Regions from separate parts of the Homo sapiens genome. Here regions 2 and 3 are each linked to region 1. The links are contacts of gene promoters, found by promoter capture Hi-C in blood cells and fetal thymus (Javierre and others, 2016). All regions are on one chromosome and are shown on one strand. The core of a region is centred on a gene start or on the middle of the fragment in contact, and the rest is flanking DNA. Distances in the headings are between cores, read along the strand shown.

Region 1 (3,741 bases), core at 897-3,396:
TCTTTCTACAATAGATAGGACCTGCAAACAAGGAACCCTAATTTACCACCAAATAACAAAATTTAAGGCTGGATGAAATAAATAAAAGATAATATTTTTTCCTTCATTCAAGAAACAGCAAATTTATGGAATGTGTTATTTAAAGAAAAAGAAAAAACCTGAAAAACATAAATGGGTTCTGGATTTAGGGCAGTTACTCTCTAACCCTGGCATATATTAGAATAACCTGGGTGCTTAAAAAACACAGTTGCCTGGGCCCAATCCCAGATTTATTGAAGGGGAAGGCCTCAGACACTTTAATTATTTTAATGCTTCATAGGTGACTCTCATGTGCAACCACATCTGACCATCATTGGTTTGGTCATGTTTGGCATATAGTTTTCTTATGTTTTTAAAATAAAGCACACTAAGAGAACTGATTAACCTACAATGACTTATGTGTTTATGAAGTGTTCTAAAAAACCATACAAAAACCAAAGAAACAAGAAAACAAACCTTTTCAACTTGATGTAGGGTTCAGAAGATACATACATTCCAAATACCACAGTAAGCATTCATCTGAAAGTTTGCCGGTTGGTCTTTCTATTAATTAAAAAAATTCAAAACAGAATACAGATTTAACTATGTACAATATTTACAACTTACAGATTTTACAACGAAATTATACAGTTAAGTCTGTCGTGGAAATGTTGGCATTTTGGTATATAACACTTCAGAAATTTCAAAAACAACTTTACCTCAAAAACATGTTACACAAATTTTCCAAAGTGCTGTAGCTCACTGGCTCATTTTATCTCAACAATCCAGTTTAGCAATCCAGGTACCCAAATCTTGAGGCATGAAGTAACCGCTATACTACTGAGAGACAGCACTTTTTATACAACAGCAGAGGCTGTTAGAAACCTTGGGTCTTTAAAACCCTATAACAATGCCCCTTTCACCCTCCAATCCTGAGACAACAAATCCTGTAGTTCCCCCTCATCATCGCTGTCAGCATTCTCTTCTTCCTTTTTCTGCAGTTCTTTTATGGTCAGGATTTCTTTAAGTTTATTTTTTATTTCATCCTGGCGATTCCGTAGCTTTTCCACCCGTCGGTAACACTCTATCTGCTCATCGATCTCCCCAATCTGGCGGTCCAACCGTCCCTCCTCATCCTCTTCGGCAACTATGGCTTCGGAAATAGTGTTGACCTGCCTCATGGCTTTTTGGAATTCGTCCCACTCTTTGTCCATCTGATCTTTTGGAGCATCAACCTTTCGTACTCTTGCATCTACCTCAGGGTCGTCAAAAAAACCTTCCGGTAACGCTTCCGCGGTGTTTTCTCTCCTTTCCACCACTTTTTCATGTATTTCTGCTTTCTCAATTGACCCTGAATGAGGAATTATGGGGGCCTTGGGAGGATTAGTACTAAAGAAATCGTTTGGCAGCACACTACTTGTTACCTCCCGTGAAGAGGAAACTGAGTGCTCCTTGCCCTGTGCGTCGGAGAGCGGCTTGCTGGCGTCCCCCCTTTTTCTTTCTCCATCTCCTTCCTCCTCCTCTTCCTCCTCCTCCTCATCTTCATAATCGGGGAGTAAACTGAGTCCTGAAGGCTTACTGGGAGTCGCTCTAATGAACTCCTTTCCTATTTTGTCAAAGTTGGTGGTCCACGCAGATGTGGAGGGCTGTACCTGAGGCACCAAGGTGGCCTTCGCTCTCTTGACATCTTGGTCGTCTGCGTCCGGCGCTTTCCTCTTGACGGAATGAGGCGCTGAACTGGCGGACGAACCCTGGCTGGCTTCCTTCGCGCCTTTCAGCTCGGCCACTTTCTCTCGGTGCTGCTTTCCCAGGACGTGAGTCTGCCACAGGAGCTCGCTCTTAACCGGAGTGTTACACAGGGCACAACTCAGCTGCCCCAAACGGTTGTACTTCGCGAATGGAGATTCTATCCGTTTCCGACTGGTGCTCAGACGCTGCTTCTCCTTCATTAACCGCCGCAATTCTTCCTGATTTATCACTCGCTTCCCTGCCGGAGTCCGGGCGGAGGCGGAGGACGCCATCTTGGCGACCAGACCCAAAACGATTCTGGTTTCCGTCGGGCGAGGCATGATAACGTCACTTCCTGTAAGGGCGATGATTGGCCGAGGCTCAAGAGAGCGTGGCGTCGCATTGCCGTTTTTGCTCAGAATCGCGACTAAGGCTTTTTTTTTTTCTCCCTCTGAACGGTTAGGCTATGGCTGCGATAAAGGCCGTCAACTCCAAGGCTGAGGTGGCGCGGGCCCGGGCAGCTTTGGCTGTCAATATATGCGCCGCCCGAGGGCTGCAGGATGTGCTGCGGACCAACTTGGGTCCTAAAGGCACCATGAAAATGTGAGACAGCGGTTGGAGCGGCCATTACGCGGCTAGGGGCCCGTTGGTGTCCTGTCGCCCTCTGAGGCAGGCGTCCGCGTAGCGCTGTGGATGTTCTTGCGAGCTTGATTTCCCTCATTCTCATCCCTGCTCTGGGGGTATTTCTCGCCTGGTGCAGGTGGAGGAGAAAAGCCTCCCCTAGTAGAGGGCCCCGGGAGTGAAGCTGTGGCGCTTCCCCGACCCCCGACTTGTCGTCAAGGTTCATATGCAGTTAGAAAGTCAGTTAATTTAGTGTCTCATTGGAAACAAAGCATTTAACTCCTCTGCTCCTTAAGACTGTATACCCTTGGTCCATAAATTCAACAAGTAGTTTTGTTTTTTGTATGGCAATGTATTGTAGTGGAGAGGACACAGGCTTTGGAGCCAGGAAGGCATGGGGTCAAATCCAAGTTCTACTTGAATACCCCGTGTCTATGGTTGTTCAGATCTATTCATCTTTTCAGTATATATTAAGCACCCTTTTCTATAGACAAGAGTGAGGAAAAGAGACCAGTGAGGGCAAAAGGGTATAAGAGGAGAGACACATCCTCATAGTAATGAACAAAATAATATTAATGGTAAAATAAGTCACTTAGGTACCAGTTGTTGGGACACAGAAATGATCAAGATAACGGTTTCTGTTCTTAAGGAGATGTGGTAGAGACGGATGTGGTAGAGTAGGATGTGCTAATTATATATAGATGCATATAATTATGCTGAAGAAAGGGACTGATGGCAGAAGGAAAAGCATCTTAAGTAACATGTTTGATCAGTCTTGAAAGAAGAATAAGACTTCACTAGTTGGAAGAGGGAGTAAAGGCCTGGGCAAAGTAATTTCAGGAATAAGAAAGACCAATGGTGCAAATCCAACAGAAACGAAACAAAACATGGTATATTAAGGGAACCAGAAGATTTGCTTGTGGAAAAGTAGATGAGGCAGGGAAGATATTGGGAAAGGTCAAGTATGTCATTGCTGTGTTTGGATTTTAACTTGAAAATGATGGAAAACATAAAAATCATTGGAGGACTTTTGATCAGGGAACTGACTGAATCACGTTGCCTTTTAGAAAGAAAAATGTGTGGAGGGTATATTTAAGTTTGGAGATATCCGGATGCCATCCAAAGTAGAGATGATAACAGTGGAGATGGAGAGAAGGTGGCAGATTCAAGAGATATTTAGGTAGTAGAATTGATAGAACTTGGTGATCTAATAAATGCAGGGATGAGGGAAACTAAGTTGAGTGACTGAATGAATGAAAACATTCACCAAAATTAAAACCTGCAGGAAATTTGCGAATTTGTGCTTTGTAGACTTCCAAGTATTCTTTGACCAAACCACAGTTCGTAACTCATCAAGTGCTTTTATCTTTAAAC
Region 2 (3,741 bases), core at 818-3,317, 420 kb after region 1:
TTTCCTCATTTACTTAATTTTCACTTTGTTATCTGTATTGAGCTTTGCTGGCCTCTTGAAATCGTTTTTGGGACACGGTTGGGGTACATATCATTTTTGGAACACGGTTGGGGTACATATAACTGGATGAACAAATAGATCGTTTCCTCTATGTTTCCAAGGTGTCTGATGCATGTTTTTACTCTGGTATTTACCGCATTTTGTTGTAATTGCTTGTTTATGTGTTTGACTGCCCCACCGGGCTGGGACTGCCACCTGGTTTTCCTGAAGCTGGACTCCTTGGCATGACTGAACACCCAGGATGGGCCACTGTCTGAATCATATTTTTCAGACCCTGAACCTATCACCACCATCCCATTTCTTCCCTATGTGGACACACCCCCACAGAGGCTCACAGCCAGCCTTAGCATCTTTCCTACCTTGGTGGATATCCTATATGTGCCATTCTTGAGGCATGGCCAGACAGGACCAGTCAATACCCAAAGGGAAAGAGAATCATGAACCAATGTGCACCCACAGTCAGAAGATGATGGCCTGAGAAGGTGGAAGGGAAAGTAGGGGTGTGTGTTATTTCCCCCTCCTGCTCAGACCTGAAGGTGGCACCTCTCCTGGCCTTGCTCTTGATCCATTTCATGTCCCCTCCCCTCTCCCTCCTCCCTTGGCCATCCTAGTGATGAGGTGAAGAGGCCGTGTACGGCCAACAGAATCCCAGGATCACAAGGTTGTCCGCTCCAGAATGTTCATGTCTCACCTGGCAATTCAATTTGGACCATCCTCTTCCCCGACCTTCCCCCTCATGAACTCCTTCATTGTATAAAAGGGGCAATTGAGGCCCAGAAAGGGAGAGTGATTTCTTCAAGGTCACACAGCAAATTTGAGGCAGGCTTGTTCTCTTTCCACCTGAAAGCAAGGTTTCTGTGCTCTGTGAGCAACAGGCACAAACTGAGCCAGCGTGGGAGGGTGTGTGTGTAGGGGGTCTGGGGAGCTTTCCTGAATTCCCTGTAAGCAGCCACCCCAAGGGGCTAGAGGGGTGGCTGATCATGCTGGGCAAATCCCTCTTCTCTGCTCACCCTTCTGGAATCAGATACACTCTGAAAATTTGCTTTGAAGGAGGAAAAATAATGATAAAGGGGCAGCTTTGGCATAGGTGGAGGGCAAAGTAGGCCAGGGAATGGCTCGAGTGACTTTGTATAGGAGGGGAGAGGGAGCGAGTGGATCGGCAAAAGTAGAAATGGCAAACTCTAATGCCCTCAGGGATTCTGTTGAAGGGGTGACAATGTGGGGGCCATAGTGGGGGCAGGAGAAGGCAGGTCATTGTCTAAATTGTGTGCCGACTGATCTCCTGCTGCTGGGGAAGGAGGCGGCAAAGTTGCAAGATCTTCCAGGTTTTTTTCAAGACAAGCTGAAAACCTGATGTTTATGTGAAATCCAGATTTTCACATGTTGACAACTAATTCAAAAATTTAAAAGCTCTGTATGAATACAATGCATAGACCTTATTTGGATTCAAACAAACCACCTGTAAAAAGACATTTTTGAGACAATTAGGAAAATTTAAATAGACACTAATAAGGAATTATTCTTCATTTTGTTAGGGTGATAATGGTTTTGTGGTTACGGTTTTAAAAAGTCTTTGTCTGCTAGAGAGACACACTGAAGTATTTATGGGTGAGATAATATAATGTCTGGATTTGCTTTAAAATATTTCAGAAACTAAAAGGTGTGTTGGGGATAGATGAGATGAGATTGACAAAATGGTGATAGGGAAGCTGGATGGTATGTATATGCAGGTTAATTATGCTCGTCTTTGCTTTTGGGTATGTTTTAAAAAATCATCACAAAAATAAACACTCTGGGTCGAACAAAACCTGTCAGCGGGCTGGATGTGGCCTCGGATCACCATTTTTCAATCTTTAGTCTAGGCCTTTCTCTCATACATAAGCCACGGAACACCAGCGGGTTAACAAAAACCCTAGAGATCAGGCTGGGTGCGGTGGCTCACGCCTGTAATCCCAGCACTTTGGGAGGCCGAGGCAGGTGGATCTACAGGGTCAAGAGATCAAGACCATCCTGGCTAATGTGGTGAAACGCCATCTCTACTAAAAAATACAAAAATTAGCTGGGCATGGTGGCGGGCGCCTGTAGTCCCAGCTACTCGGGAGGCTGAGGCAGGAGAATCACTTGAACCCGGGAGGTGGAGGTTGCAGTGAGCCGAGATTGTGCCACTGCACTCCAGCCTGGCAACAGAGTGAGACTCCATTTCAAAAAGAAAAGAAAAGAAAAGAAACCCTAGAGATCATATGGGTGAGGGGTTGGCAAACTACAGCCTGGGGCCCAAATCTGGCCTGCCACCTGTTTTTGTCAATAAAGTTTTATTGGAACACAGCCACATCCATTTTGTAATGTATTTGTCTCTGACTGCCTTTGTGCTACAATAGCAGATTTGAGTAAGTGTGATGCAGACTGTATATCTTACAAAGCCTAAAATATTTGCTATCTTACACTTTACAGAAGAAGTCCGCTGACCCTGAGCCAGGTCAACAACCATCTACCTTTAGCATTGAAGTTCTTGTGCCACATCTTCTAAGCCCAGGGTTAAGTTGGAGCTGGAGGGAAGGTGGGTCCTGCTGATGGAAGGGTGCAGGAGACCTGGAGAAACACGACTCTGACGTGGAATGAGAGTAGTTAGGTAGAATGGGAACCGTGAGCGCGTGCACTGGACCCTGCTGACATTCCAGGGAGTGCCAAGGACCACTCCGAGTAAGAGACAGTGTGAGGGCAGGCAGAGAGCTTGGGCTTCAGAGCCAGGAAGGTCTTACGTCCAATCCTGACCTAAACTATGCCTTAGTTTCTTCTTCTGAAAAATGGGAATAAGAAGTGATAAACAGCGCTCCTATGAAGCCGATCATAAGCAGGAGGGGTTTAATAAATAGTAGATATTATTGTTATTATATCCCTGTTGTGCAGTCATTGAGTTTTTGGATCATAAAGACCCAATGTTACTAAACTTTATTGTTAACTGTAGAAATATCCTCTTAATAAAAGGAAATAAGTGCTGATTGTAGAGAATTCACATAACTTTTGTTAAGGGCAAACAAGATGTTTATTGATCTTTTAAGAGAAAACAAAGAAGAAAATTGTATTCTTGTGCATGTAAAAAGGATAAGCCTCTACTTGAGTGAGAAACTAGAGGTTAATATCAAATGCCAACTGTAAATAAGGTTTTACATACAAGCATATTATGAAACTATGTTCCCCATATAATCTGGTTTAGATGGCAGTAGGCAGACTCTGGAAAATGTTACATATGTGTAGATAGGGATGTCATGGTTGACATAGTCTTTCCAGACTTTAGATATGTAAGCATCAGTAACAATGAGAAGGAATACCTGCTGCCCAGGGTTATCTTGGAGATAAATGAGATAACCTATGTAAAGAACCTACATAGTGCTTGGCATACGTTAGGTGTTCAACAAATCTTAATTCTGCCAATCCATCTATCCTCCCATCATCCACTGTTAGTCTGTCTGCTGTTTTCCCTATGCCCAAATGCCCTGCATTTGGCCTACATGCTTAATAGTTAAATAGTTTTGCTGTCTATGTATTCTCTATGCATCTGGGTTTTTTAAGGAAATTTTTTAATTATTATTTTTTAAAATTTTATTTATTTATTTATTTATTTATTTATTTATTTATTTATTTATTTTGAGATGGAGACTCGTTCTGTTGCCCAGCCTGGAA
Region 3 (3,741 bases), core at 849-3,348, 400 kb after region 1:
AGGCTCTTGTAAGTGCTAAATAAGTATCTGCTGTTATATATCATTGCTGTCACCATCATCACCATCATCATCATCAACATAATCACCACCATCATCACTATCACCACCACCATCATCATTGTCATCACCATGAATACCACCATCATCATCACTACCAGCATCAGTATCATCATCATAATCATCACCATCATCTTCATCACTACCATCATTGTCATCACCATCGTCACCATTATTGTCATCATCACCACAATTATCCCCACCACTGCCATCTTTATTATCATTCTTATGGTTCTGGACATATCACTTCAACTCTCTGGGCCTCAATTTCCTTACCTGTGAAATGGGCACTGTAAATATTTGCAAACCGTATAATAATTATAGGGTTTATTGAGTGCATTTCATGTGCTTGATACCATTCTAAGTTCATCATTCATTACCTCGTTTAATTCTCATGAGCACCTCCGAGATCAGATTATAAATAGCAGAACTGGGATTCTAACCCGGGCCATCTGACTCCAGAGTAAGTCTCTTAATTACTACCATATAAACTTTATATGGTAGTACAACGTTTGTGTTTTAAGCTGTTATTACAAGAGTCTGAAAGTTAAAAAAATTAAAAAGAGTTTACAAACTAAACAAGTTACAGTAAGCTAAGGTTAGTTTATTATTGAAGAAAAAATATTTTTAATAAATTTAATGTAGTCTAAATGTACAGTGTTTATACTTATAGTCTCAAGCCTCCTGAGTGGTGATAAGTGGCATATGCAAGGTAGCATGTAATGCTGCAGGATGTTTCTCGGGCCTTTAATAAGTAAACTGATGTGTGAGCTATGTGAGTTCATGAGTGTTAAATGTCTGTGTGTGCACACTTATGTGTGAGTGTGACATGCTATTTAAAGTATATGCAGTCATGCGTTGCTTAGTGATGAAGATACATTCTGAAACATGTATCATTAGGTGATTTCATTGTTGTGCACACATCATGGAGTGTACTTACAGAAACCTGGATGGTATAGCTTACTACACACCTAGGCTATATAGTATGACCTCTTATTCCTAGGCTACAAACCTGTGCAGCATATTACCATGTTGCATACTGTAGGCAATTTTAACACAGTGGTATTTGTGTATCTAAACATATTCAAACATAGAAAAAAGGTAGGGTATAAATACAGTATAAAAGATAGAGAATGGCACACCTGTATGGAACACTTACCATGAATGGCATGTGGAGGACTGGAAGCTGATCTGGGTAAGTCAATCAGTGAGTGGTGAATGGACTTGAAGGCCTAGGACAGTACTGTACACTACTGTAGACTTTATAAACACTGTACATTTAGGCTACATTAAATTTATTAAAAATATTTTTCTTTCTTCAGTAATAAACTAACCTTAGCTTACTGTAACTTCTTTAGTTTGTAAACTCTTTTTAATTTTTTTTTAACTTTCAGACTCTTGTAATAACAGCTTAAAACACAAATGTTGTATAGCTGTACAAAATATCTTCTTTCTTTATATCCTTAATCTATAAGAGATTTCCTATTTAAAATTTTTTATTTCTTTTGTACTTCATAAAGTTTTTTGTTAAAAGTGAAGACATGAACACACACATTAGCCTGGGCCTACACAGGGTCAGCATGATCAATATCACTGTCTTCCACCTCCACATCTTGTTGCACTGGAAGGTCTTCAGGGGCAATAACATGTATAGAGCTGTCATCTCCTGTGATAATGGTGCTTTCTCCTGGAATTCCTCCTGAAGGACCTGCCTGAGGCTGTTCCTGAGGTAGTGTCACTCTTTTCAGAAACGTATCCATGGTAGTTTGCTTGGTTGTTTTCTTTTTTCATCATAGATTTGCTTGTAAGCAAATAATGCACCATGAACATTCCTCTCTATTAATGCAAACCTTTTGTTGTTAGGGTCTACATTTTCAAACCTTTTAAGGAGCTTGTTGCGGTCTGCAAAAGCTTCTGCTAAACTCCTCACTGTGAATTTTCTTCAGGGTTCTTTTTCTTCTCCTGTACTTTCCCTTTTTCTTGCCTCTTCTTCAGCTATGTGATCCTGTTCCAGTTCCAACAATTCCTCCTTAGTCAATTCTTCATTAACCACCTCTGAGAGCTCCTCAATGTCATCCTCATCCACACCCGGGTTGAAGCTGTTTGCCATTTCAACCACAGCCTTGTTGATTTTTAATCCCCTTATGCTTGGAAAATCCTTTGAAGCTTGGATAAACCTCTTGAGTGTCTTCTTCCAGATGCCATTCATACACTCATTGATGACATCACTTAAGCCCAAGCAAGGTTCACGATGCAAAGATGTAATTTTTCCAGAATTGCGTCAATATCTTCTCAGTGCCTTCCTTAGTTGTAGCAATAGCCTGAACAAAGATCTTCCCTGAGCAGTAGGTCTTACAAGCTGCTATAATTCGTTTCTCCATTGGTTGAATCAAAGAGGTGGTGTTTGGAGACAGAAAGACCACGTTGATATTGAAATGAAGATCACCAATAAAAGAGGGATGTGTGGGAGCATTATCAACAATAAGCAAAATCTTGAAATGTATGTTATTCTCCAAACAGCATTTCTCTATTTTGCTGGCATAGCAACTCAAGGGGGCGTCTTGGAAGAGGAGTTGGGTCATCCATGACTTATTATTGCTCCTGAAGTACACTGGCCATGTGTGCTTATTGATATGCTTGAGGCCCTGGGGTTCTCACTGTCCCAGATCACAAAGGGTTTCAATTTGTGGCCTGCAACATTGTCCCCAAGCAAGATTGTCATCCTGTCCTTAAAAGTCTTGAAATCTGGCATTGACTTGACCTTCTTTAGGATTAAAGTCCTTTCAGGCATCCATTTCCAGAATAGGCAGCTTTCATCCATATTGAAGATTTGCTCTGGCAAGTAATTTTCCTCCACGATCAGATTGCCAGAGTTTTCAAAAATTCTTCAGCTGCCATCACATCAGCACTTGAAAACTCACCACTCACTTTCACAGAATGTAATAAATAATGATTCTTGAATCATTTAATCCACCCGGGGCTAACAGTAAATTCAACATCATAGTTGGGTCCAGCATCTTCTTTCAACATCACGAAATTTTTGCTTTGGCAGTGATCATCACGGTGCTGGGAGGGATAGGCTTCTGTGTCTAGTCTTCAAATCAAGTCATTAGAAATTTCTGTCTATCTGATATGGGCCCTTTTAGAACTTTTGTTAGTATCATTGCCTTCAATGAAGCAGATCCTTTAGCAGCTTCTGTCACTTTGATCTTGTTCTTCAAGATTGTAGCTATGGTGGAATGACACATGCCTGACTGATGAGCAGTAACCATCACTGATTCTCCACCTTCATAGTCCTTAATCACTTTTAATTTTGTTTCCAGGACAATCACTTGATGTGGCCTCTTACTGGCAACATTAGCAGTGGATTTTGTTCACTTTGGGGCTATGATGAACAAAACATTGTGAGGTTAAATCAAGCACAAGAGAAAACAGTGCAATCAAGAAGTGCAGTAAACGAGATATATGAGGCTGCTGCTGGAGTAACACAGCATACTGTTTTACAGTAAACATTTTTTTTAATAAGTAGAAGGTGTACACTCTAACGATAAAAAGCATGGTATAGTAAATAGATAAACCATCAACACAGTCCTTTATTATCATTATCAAATATTATGTACTATACATAATTGTACATGCTAGACTATTATACAATTGGTAGTCCTGTAGGTTTGTTTATAGCAG

The links. The method cuts DNA at HindIII sites, captures the fragments that hold promoters and counts their contacts. A CHiCAGO score of 5 or more calls a contact.
Region 2: a contact is called between a fragment that was not itself captured here and the fragment with the promoter of CCT6B in region 1, in 4 of 17 cell types (M2 macrophages, activated CD4 T cells, total B cells and 1 more). The highest score is 6.9, in M2 macrophages.
Region 3: a fragment that was not itself captured here is called in contact with the fragment with the promoter of CCT6B in region 1 in 3 of 17 cell types (M1 macrophages, M0 macrophages and total CD4 T cells); the score reaches 7.1 in M1 macrophages.

The regions. Positions count from the first base shown.
Region 1 is chr17:34,959,865-34,963,605 of GRCh38, reverse strand. It overlaps CCT6B (chaperonin containing TCP1 subunit 6B), which reads left to right and starts at 2,146. Exons shown (of 14, transcript NM_006584.4): 1 at 2,146-2,349. The coding sequence starts at 2,213. It overlaps ZNF830 (zinc finger protein 830), which reads right to left and starts at 2,066. Exons shown (of 1, transcript NM_052857.4): 1 at 1-2,066. The coding sequence starts at 2,039. The coding sequence ends at 921. RefSeq lists enhancers at 1,773-2,022, 2,103-2,182, 2,233-2,452, 2,553-2,602 and a silencer at 2,322-2,616. The HindIII fragment of the contact is 8,368 bases long and covers 1-3,741 here.
Region 2 is chr17:34,538,716-34,542,456 of GRCh38, reverse strand. No RefSeq gene overlaps it. Among named protein-coding and RNA genes, the nearest start is that of TMEM132E-DT, 39 kb to the left of the region's middle. The HindIII fragment of the contact is 6,842 bases long and covers 1-3,741 here.
Region 3 is chr17:34,557,937-34,561,677 of GRCh38, reverse strand. No RefSeq gene overlaps it. Among named protein-coding and RNA genes, the nearest start is that of TMEM132E-DT, 20 kb to the left of the region's middle. The HindIII fragment of the contact is 255 bases long and covers 1,971-2,225 here.